3 separate regions of the Homo sapiens genome follow, and all the other regions are linked to region 2. Evidence: promoter capture Hi-C in 16 types of primary human blood cells and fetal thymus (Javierre and others, 2016). All regions are on one chromosome and are shown on one strand. Each heading gives the region's core, a stretch centred on a gene start or on the middle of the fragment in contact. The rest is flanking DNA. Distances are from core to core; before and after follow the strand shown. Region 1 overlaps OSBPL1A (oxysterol binding protein like 1A). Region 2 holds the start of SS18 (SS18 subunit of BAF chromatin remodeling complex). Region 3 has its middle 5.7 kb from the start of IMPACT.

Region 1 (3,001 bases), core at 427-2,926, 1.7 Mb before region 2:
GAGCCACCACACCCGGCCCTATACTCTAATAAAGACAAAGGGAGACTATTCAAAAATTATTAAAAATATATGTTGCGATTAGTTTTTAAATTCTCAGATACTGATTTTATGAATGTTACATTAATATTTAAAATACATTGTATGCTAGAAATTTGAATGAGAAAAATTAAATGTCTATGAACAAACACATCCTATAAACTAAATCTTAAAAACATAAAAACCAGTACCGTGCTTAGCCCTGCGCTCCAAAGTAGTTAGCTGCTTTTTTGAAACAGGGTCTCAGTCAATTGCCCAGGATGGAGTGCAGTGGCACAATCGTGGCTCACTGCAGCCTCAAACTCCTGGACTCAAGCAATCCTCCCATCTTGGCCTCCTGAGTAGCTGGGACCACAGGTGCACGCCACCATACCCAGCTAATTTTTGTATCTTTTATAGAGATGTGGTCTGGCTACATTGCCCAGGCTGGTCTCGAACTCCTGGCCTTAAGGAATTATCCTGCCTTGCCTTCCAACGTGCTGGAATTACAGGCATGAGCCACCTCGCCCAGCCTGTAGTTAGCTGCTTAATGGTGTGTTTTCTCCTGACGTTATATTCTTTTAATACCAGCAAGGTATTAAAGATTAAAGTAACTACATAAAAACATGGCAATGGCAAAAAAAAAATACTTATTTGCTCTAACTATGATTAGTTGCTAGCAATCAGTAATTTCTCTGATGCAATCATATACCTACATGTATGTACATGTGTATACATTATGCACACATGTGCATAGATACACATATTATGTATACAGAAAACTGACATTTGTGATGACATAAACAAATGCATTTTTTGCTTGTTTTAGAAACTGAACATTGGTAAACGAATTCATTAATCTAACACTCTGATTCTAGAGCTGAAGCAACTGAAAAGCCCAAAGGCAAAGTTACTTGCCAAGTATTAACAGTAGAGTCACAGCCAGAATGTAGAAGGGGTGAAATAATGCAACGTATTTTATTTTTATTTATTTATTTTTATTTTTATTTTTTTTGAGACGGAGTCTCGCTCTGTCGCCTAGGCTGGAGTGCAGTGGCACGATCTCCGCTCACTGCAAGCTCCTCTTCCCGGGTTCACACCATTCTCCTGCCTCAGCCTCCCAAGTAGCTGGGACTACAGCTGCCCGCCACCACGCCTGGCTAATTTTTTGTAGTTTTTAGTAGAGCCGGGGTTTCACTGTGTTAGCCAGGATGGTCTCCATCTCCTGACCTCGTGATCCGCCCATCTCGGCCTCCCAAAGTGCTGGGATTACAGGTGTGAGCCACTGCACCTGGCATTGCTATGTATTTTATAAAATTCAATTCAGCTGCAAAAGTTAAATGCCATTGATTCTCATTAGTGTTCCTGTGTAAGCACTGAGGAATTTGAATCTGAATTATGTTTTGAGTGCCTCATTTTAAAAAGCTTTATTTATTAACTGAAAAGAATACCTAAAACATGGCAATTTAAGGAAAACAGGAGCAAATTATAAAGCCTATTTTGGGAAGCACTAACCTGTATCGTTTTAAGTTATAAGACAAAATTTTAATCACTTAATTTTTAATTCAGTGAAACTTTTTCTCTAACTTCCTCAATAAGTTTTTGTGCCCTAATAAAAAGCATTCATCTCCCACAGGAGAAATGATGGAGAATTGGCCACAATTATGTGTCATCTAATGGTTTATAAAGCATTGAAATCATAAAATGTTTATACCAAATTATTATTTACTTTATATTTGATAAATTTACATTACCTTCTCTTATTCATATCCATTCCATACCCACACCAACTTGGATACCATACGGACATAATAAAAAACCAACCATATCACCAGGTATTTATCTTACCCATATTCGGTTGGAAATTTTAATGTTTCTTAAAATTAGTAAAAATTAAATAAGCTTCATAGCTTTGCTTAATGAAGTTGTTTAAAATAACTTTGGTGCTATAATTTTAGCTGCTTTAACAATTAAGCACTAATTCCTAGATGCACCCCTGATTTGAACTTCAATTTGACAGATTCTGAAAACTATTTACTACTGTTTCAAAACAGAGCAGGTATGAAGAGCAGAGAACCCTACAAATTTAACAAATCAAGTTTAGTAATAAAAATCCTAGCAAGGAGGCTGATTGTTACCTTTTAATGACAAAATTCCCTAAATTTTAGAAAAATGCATTAAAATTTTCCCATTTCAATTATTTCACATTTGAAAATTATCTTTCAAACTCAATTAAACTCATGTATAATAATACTGACCATTTATGCATCACAGAAATACCTCTTTAAAGAAAAACTTTAAACACAAAGTAAAAACATGTGGTTACTTTCCATTGTCACATGATACGAAATTGTACAGTTAAAGACTGCTTTCACTATACAGTAATTTCCTACTTGCAGGCTGATAAATAAAAGTAAAGTGAGCGACCTAGTTTATCTTCCTAGTAATAGCATTAAAACTATTTCTTATACTAGCCCACCTCACACAGCCCCCTTAATACTGACAGTACCAACACAGAATTAGTGGCAGAGGCCACGTGAGGAAAAACATTTCTAGAGACCAAGAACATCACATAAGATACTTATATGACACCACAATCATAAATATACATACACTATACAGATTACCTGACAGTGTCTTTTCTTAAACTTCATGAATTGTTAGTATAAGCTGGTGACTGCAGTGCTAAAACCTGTCCTCTTTCTAGGAAATTCAGAGAACTTGCTAGGTCATCAAAAAAGCTCTGATTGCCAAAGTTCAGACTCAGCTTGGAAGAACTGACAAGGTTCTGAAGGATATCAAGTTTCTCACACGCACTTGATATCATATTCTCTCTTCTCCACTAAGTTATTCATTTGGCTGATTTCTACTTTCTGCCTACTACTTTTCTCAATGAAAACATATGATGTATAAAAGCTCAGCTTCCAGTAATGTCAAGAGGTAAGAAACTGACACAGTTCCACTTAAAAATATTATGATCAGATAT
Region 2 (3,066 bases), core at 383-2,882:
AGTCCTCAACCTAATGATTTCACAACTTATTATCTCCAGTATATTCCTCAAACTATTGAACTTCACCATTAAAATATCTGTCTCACATCTAATATCAATCTCTCCCATTGTAGAATAAGGCAATTAATTTAGAGCCCATTTTTCTGTTCAGCTGAGAATGGAAAATAATTGATCAGCATCCTCCGAATTAATCATTATCCATGATAAATATCTTCAGACTTATGTAACAGAAACTATAAAAAAAAAAGAAAAACTCTGGACTTTTCCTGTGTACAAAAATAAAAAAGGTGAGCCCTCCAGAAACGCAGTTTTGCGTGAGTGCGTACTTGGAGCTGTTTGCCAGGCTGCAGACTTAACTCAGAGCACTATATGAAAGCACTGCATTTCCAGGCACTGCCAAGCCCGTTTGTTCATAAAATAAAGCAACAGTTGGGCAAATGTCAAAAGCCACACTACGAAGAACCTGACAGTAAACAGAAACCGATTAGCATAATCTACGTGGTCTGAGTGGTACTAAAACTTGACCTTTTTTTCTATTTTGATCTTTGCTACACAGCATAAAACAAAACAAAAATATTTAAAGTAAACTGCTAAATACAGCAGCAACTTCTGAAAGTCTAGGTCAGTAAAATTTAGAATGCTGCCTTGCTTGCAGGCAACAAGGGGTAGAGGACAATAAAGAACCTTTGTGTTCCGACTGGCAGTAACACAGCAGCGACTGCAGCAGCTCTATCCTTTAAAAAGGAGGCAGCTCCCTGTGTATTTATCACGACTTACATTAACTGGTCACGACAGTCTCCACCATTAGACTGTAAGCTCCAGGAAGGCAAGGACCATGACTCACCACAGTAGCCTCAGCGCCTAAAATAGGCGCTCAATAAATATTTGCTGCAGAATAAATGAATAGGCGGCGATGCAGAAGGGAAGAAGAGGCTCTGGGGACAACCCCAGAGTCCATGGGGACCTTCCTTGCCCGCTCCTCAAACTCTATACTAAGGTTCCCTCCAGCGTTCCCCAAGTCCTCCTGCGAGCTCCCAAACTCGGCTGAGTTTGCAGGGCGGCGACCAGCGCACCGACTTCCCCTCTGCCTGCCGCGACCCGCGGTGGGGTCCGCACGAAGCAGCCGCGGCACGCGGGGCGGGGCGACGCCAAAGTAACTCCGGAGCAACGCGCGGGGCCGCCGGTCCGACACACGCCCTTCCCTGAGCGGCCGCCGCCGGGCGCACGCGCCCCGCAGCCCGAACGCCGCCCCATCCCTAGAGAAATCAGGCGGCGGCTGTTTGGGCTTTTGTGTCTGTAGAAAAACGCGTAAATGCGTGAAAGACTCCGAGAAAAACCGGTTCACCCTCTTCCGCCACCCACTCAGGCACAGCCAGCAGTCCGTGTTCCCAAACACTGCTGATTCCCAGCAGGCCCGCCTCCGCCTCGGCCCGGTCGACTCCGGGCCCGGCCCTTCCCCCCGCGTCTGTCTCTCCCAGAGGCGGTAAGGGCCTGGCATCCGCAACCCCGCGCGGTTTCACCTTCTGAATCGCAGCGGGAGTGATCTCCCCCTTGCCTCGCTGCCTCGGGGCCGCGAAAGCCACAGACATGTTGCCGCCGTCACCACTATCGGCAAGTCCCGAGCGCTCCGGGTGAACGGCAAACTGGGGGAGAGACGCCGGCCTCTCGGGCTGAACCACCTCGGGAATGCGGGGAGGGGGGATGCTCCGGGGCCAAGCGGACGGGCGGCGGGGCAGGCCTGAAGGAGGCACTCTGGCCAGGGATGTCTCGCTTCTGCGCACTCTGGGGGACCCCTAGCCCTGGCCGAACTTTCTTGACCGTCCCTGCATCCCCCGAGCTCTCCTTATGGGCACCCCCTGGCCCTTTGCGCTAATGGTAGAGTCGCGCCCTAGTCCTCCCTCCGCTTCAGCGATTCAGGAAATGGTCCCGCCGCCGCGGGAGAAGGAGAGGCTGGGGCAGCCCCTGTCACAGGAAATGCGAGCGGCCCAAGCCGGCCCGCCCCCTTCGCGCCGTGGCAACTTGCCTCCCTCTCCGGCCCTCTGAAGCGTCTCCCCGACTGTGTTGCAGAGCGTGCCCTAGACCTAGTTCAGTTTTTCCAACTTCATCCTTACTTACGCCTCCTGGCAAGAGTGGCCGCCCCGAGTTGTCCCGGCAGCCCGGAGAGGGGAGGGAGGTCAAGACTCGGGAGTTCGTGCAAATCCGTGGAGCATCTGCCGAGATAGGGCAGAGGTGGAAGGACAAGGTGAACGCGGATTCGCTGGTTTAAATGGCTCGGCTACGCCCCAAATGCGCACCTCCGAGTCCACAGTCTCGCACGCACGCACAAAGTCGTGCCTAACAATTGGAAAGTAACCCTGACCCGAAACCGGGACACCAAGGTTGTGTCCAGTGCTCAGGGGCAATCGGCCAGCTTGGCTGGAGCGGACAGAGAAGAGCTCGCCTCTTGGGACAAACCCTTAGCAGGAAAGTGGGTCGATTTCGTCTGACTTGGCTTTTTGGAATTAAGTTGTGAAACAGGGCATCCTCACTCTCTGTTTTTTAAGAGAGTACTTACTTAGTGCCTTGTAAATTAGGCCCAAGCTGCCAGGCTTCAAGTCAGTGTAAGGGAAAAAGGCAAAGTTTTCAAATTATGGAAGGAACACGGACAAATGTGGGTTTTGTGTTGCCGTGGGGTTTTAAAGTATTCTGTAAATTTAGACTTCCATATAACACAAAGGGAAAGTTTATATAAAGTGTTACCCAACGTTAATGAATAATAAAAAATATTTCCATTTTTATATAAATTGGAAAAATAAAGAAAAAATACATTATTTTAAAAATTTAATCACTTGAGGCCAGGAGTTTGAGACCAGCCTGGGCAACAAAGTGAGACCTCTGTCTCTACAAGAATTTTAAAAATTGGCTGGGTATGGTGGTGTGCACCTGTAGTTCCAGCTACTAAGGAGGCTGAGGTGGAAGAATCACTTGAGCCAAGGGGGTGGAGACTGCAGTAAGCCATGACTGCCCCACCACACTCCACCCTGGGTGACACAGCAAGACCCTGTCTCAAAAAAAAAAAAAGAAAAA
Region 3 (3,240 bases), core at 446-2,945, 1.7 Mb before region 2:
AAGTGAAAGGTAAAGAGATGGCCATTTGGGTTGGGTGCAGTGGCGCACATCTGTAATCCTAGCACTTTGGGAGGCCAAGATGGGTGGATCACTTGAGGCCGGGAGTTTGAGACCAGCCTGGCCAACATGGTGAAACCCTGTCTCCACTAAAAATACAAAAATTAGCCAGGTGTGATGACACATGCCTGTAGTCCCAGCTACTTGGGAGGCTGAGGCAGGGGAATCTTTTGAACCTGGGAAGCAGAGGTTGAAGTGAGCCGAGATTGTGCCACTGTACTCCAGCCTGGGCAACAGAGTCAGACTGTCCAAAAAAACAATAAAATAAAATAAAGGCCGGGAGCAGTGGCTTACACTTGCAATCCTAGGACTTTGGGAGGCCGAGGCGGGCGGATCACCTGAGATCAGGAGTTTGAGACCAGCCTGGCTATCACGGTGAAACACTATCTCTATTAAACATACAAAAATTAGCCAGGCGTGGTGGTGAGCACCTGTAATCCCAGCTACTTGAGAGGCTGAGGCCCAAGAATCACTTGAGCTCAGGAGGCAGAGGTTGCAGTGAGCCAAGATCAGGTCACTGCACTCCAGCCTGTGTGAGAGTGAGACTGACACACACACACACAAACACACACACACGACGGCCATTTGAAGATTTAAGGGAAGAACATTCCACTCAGAGGCAAAAGGGAAAAGCAAATAACTTGTATTTCTTAACCAACAATTTTGACTTCACACACATCTCCTCTGAATATTGATTTTGAGGTTATGGGGAAGCTAATCATACGGCCATTTTCTACTTTTAGTCAAAAAAGCTTCTGGAGGGAAAAAATTTGAGATGTCACGTAAAGAGGTAAGGAAGTCAAGTGTGGCAGTTAAGGGTGCATGGTGCTGAGGAAGGCTTATCTCTGGCTTTACCCACTCCCACTCCCACCCAAGAACCTGTTCTCCGTTGGCTATAACCCAATCCTTGCTAAAGTTTCAATGAATAATTAACAAAAGAACTTGTAACTATCCCTTCTAGAAGTTTATTCATTAAGAAGATGCTTCTTGAAAATGAAAAAATAAAAAGATCAGATTTAATTCTTTTTTTGAGACAGAGTCTCACTCTGTTGCCCAGGCTGGAGTACAATGGAGCAATCTTGGCTCACTGCAACCTCCTCCTCCTGGGCTCAATTGATCCTTCCGCCTCAGCCCCCCAAGTAGCTGGGACTAGAGGCATGAGCCACCACGCCCAGCTAATTTTTGTGTTTTTTGTAGAGATGAAGTTTCACCATGTTGCCCAGGCTGGTCTCAAACTCCTGAGCTCAAGTGATCCACCTGCATTGGCCTCCCAAAGTGCTAGGATTACAGGCGGATGAATTACTGTGGAACACTTGTTTGAACATGCTGTTACTGGGGAAACAAACCTGCCGTAGCGGTCAATGAAGTACTTGCAAAACTGCTTGGGGGATAGGAGTACCTGTTTCTGAAAAGGGGGTGCTGACTGGAGGTGGTGTAACAGGGTCCCTACCACACAGCACAGTTCCTCTCTAGGTGAACTCTAACATAACACCTGAGATGCCACTCTTCCATTCCCTTCAAATCTCCTGAAGTCAGGAAATGCCTCTGGCTCCATTATTTTATTTATTTATTTATTTGAGACAGAGTCTCGCTCTGTCACCCAGACAGGAGTGCAGTGGTGGGATCTCAGCTCACTGCAACCTCCGCCTCCCGGATTCTCCTGCCTCAGCCTCCAGAGTATTTGGGATTACAGACACACGCCACCATGCCTGGCTAATTTTTGTATTTTTAGTAGAGATGGGGTTTCACCATGTTGGCCAGGCTGGTCTTGAACTCCCGACCTCAAGTGATCCGCCCGCCTCGGCCTCCCAAAGTGCTGGGATTACAGGCATGAGCCACCATGCCAGGCCAGGCTCTATTATTTTTTTCTAACTATGTTTATACAATTATCAGCTAATCTTCCCAGGATACAGTGTTACTTATGGTGAAATTATAATATTAAAGGATTTTCTCTCTCCCCTAATTGCTTGCTTGACATTGACTCTGTTTCCTTGATTACTTCTTTGACAAGAACTTCTCCATAAAACTTATAGTTTAATATCCAGTATTTTAATCTTCAGCCATAGTGGGTCAAATTATTGAGTAAGCAAATGAACAGCACAAAGAGAAGGAAGAGCCTCAGCATTCATTGTCCTTGTAGTCAGCTATATTTTGGCTTTCATTGTCTGGGAGCTAAGGTAAACACACAGAGAACAGGAGGGAAAAGATCATTGTGTACTAAGATGGTTTGTGTTTTGTTTCTAAAATATTTTGAGGACATATTTCCCTAAGAAAAATATTTCAGAACCAGATAATATTGTAAGTTAATATTGTTAAAAGATAAACACATTAAAATTGTCACGAGTTTGAGAATGAAGCTATTCATGAATCACGCAGCACCAGAGCTCAAACAGTTCAACACTCCACTAAATTGGTGGGAGGGAGAAATTTTTCTAAGGTGTTTGCAGAAGCAAGATAAAGAAAATATTTGATGGCTTAAACTAGAAAGTCCCTAGTTAGATGTCACTTAGTGGTTTCTGATTGGTTAAGCTTAAGTTTACACTGAGTTCTATTTCTGTTTGCTTACTCAGAAACACAAGGCAATGGAACTGTCTTAGCCTCATGGCCTCCCAATTAATTATTTTAACAAAACCATATGGACAGAATTTGCCTGTGTTACAGTGTATCCTAGAGCAGTTTGTTCTAGTCTTCTTGGAGAGGAAGATACCAAAATGAAGTTAAATATGCAAGAAATGTGTTAGGGGAAATGCCTGTAGAAAATTGGGAAGGAACTTGAAGAGGCTCAGAGAACCATCACACCGATACTAATCTGATCCTGAGTGAATGTTGAGAAACAAGTAGAGGAAAGGGCCTTCGCTGTGGCTCACGCCTGTAATCCCAGTACTTTGGGAGGCTGAGGCAGGAGGATCGCTTGAGCCCAGGAGTTTGAGACCAGCCTGGGCAACATAGTGAGACCTCCACTCTAAAACAAATCAAAAAATTAGCCTGGTGTGGTAGCGTGTGCCTGTAGTCCCAGCTACTTGGGGGTGCTGAGGTGGGAGAATTAATTAAGCCCTGGAAATTGAGGCCACAGCGAGCTATGATTCCCACCACTGCACTCCAGCCCAGGCGACAGAGATCCTGTCTCTAAGAAATAAAAAATAAAAAGAAGAAGAAGTAGAGGAAGGTTGTGCGGCAGTTTTT

Evidence for each region. The method cuts DNA at HindIII sites, captures the fragments that hold promoters and counts their contacts. A CHiCAGO score of 5 or more calls a contact.
Region 1: a contact is called between a fragment that was not itself captured here and the fragment with the promoter of SS18 in region 2, in 2 of 17 cell types (non-activated CD4 T cells and total B cells). The highest score is 5.8, in non-activated CD4 T cells.
Region 3: a fragment that was not itself captured here is called in contact with the fragment with the promoter of SS18 in region 2 in 2 of 17 cell types (non-activated CD4 T cells and naive CD8 T cells); the score reaches 7.5 in non-activated CD4 T cells.

The regions. Positions count from the first base shown.
Region 1 is chr18:24,392,441-24,395,441 of GRCh38, forward strand. The region is part of intron 1 of OSBPL1A (oxysterol binding protein like 1A); the gene reads right to left. The region is part of intron 2 of LOC124904268 (a long non-coding RNA gene); the gene reads left to right. Among named protein-coding and RNA genes, the nearest start is that of OSBPL1A, 3.9 kb to the right of the region's middle. The HindIII fragment of the contact is 477 bases long and covers 1,439-1,915 here.
Region 2 is chr18:26,088,981-26,092,046 of GRCh38, forward strand. SS18 (SS18 subunit of BAF chromatin remodeling complex) reads right to left here and starts at 1,633. Exons shown (of 11, transcript NM_001007559.3): 1 at 1,521-1,633. The coding sequence starts at 1,589. RefSeq lists an enhancer at 1,968-2,087. The HindIII fragment of the contact is 4,894 bases long and covers 1-3,066 here.
Region 3 is chr18:24,419,365-24,422,604 of GRCh38, forward strand. No RefSeq gene overlaps it. Among named protein-coding and RNA genes, the nearest start is that of IMPACT, 5.7 kb to the right of the region's middle. The HindIII fragment of the contact is 1,777 bases long and covers 808-2,584 here.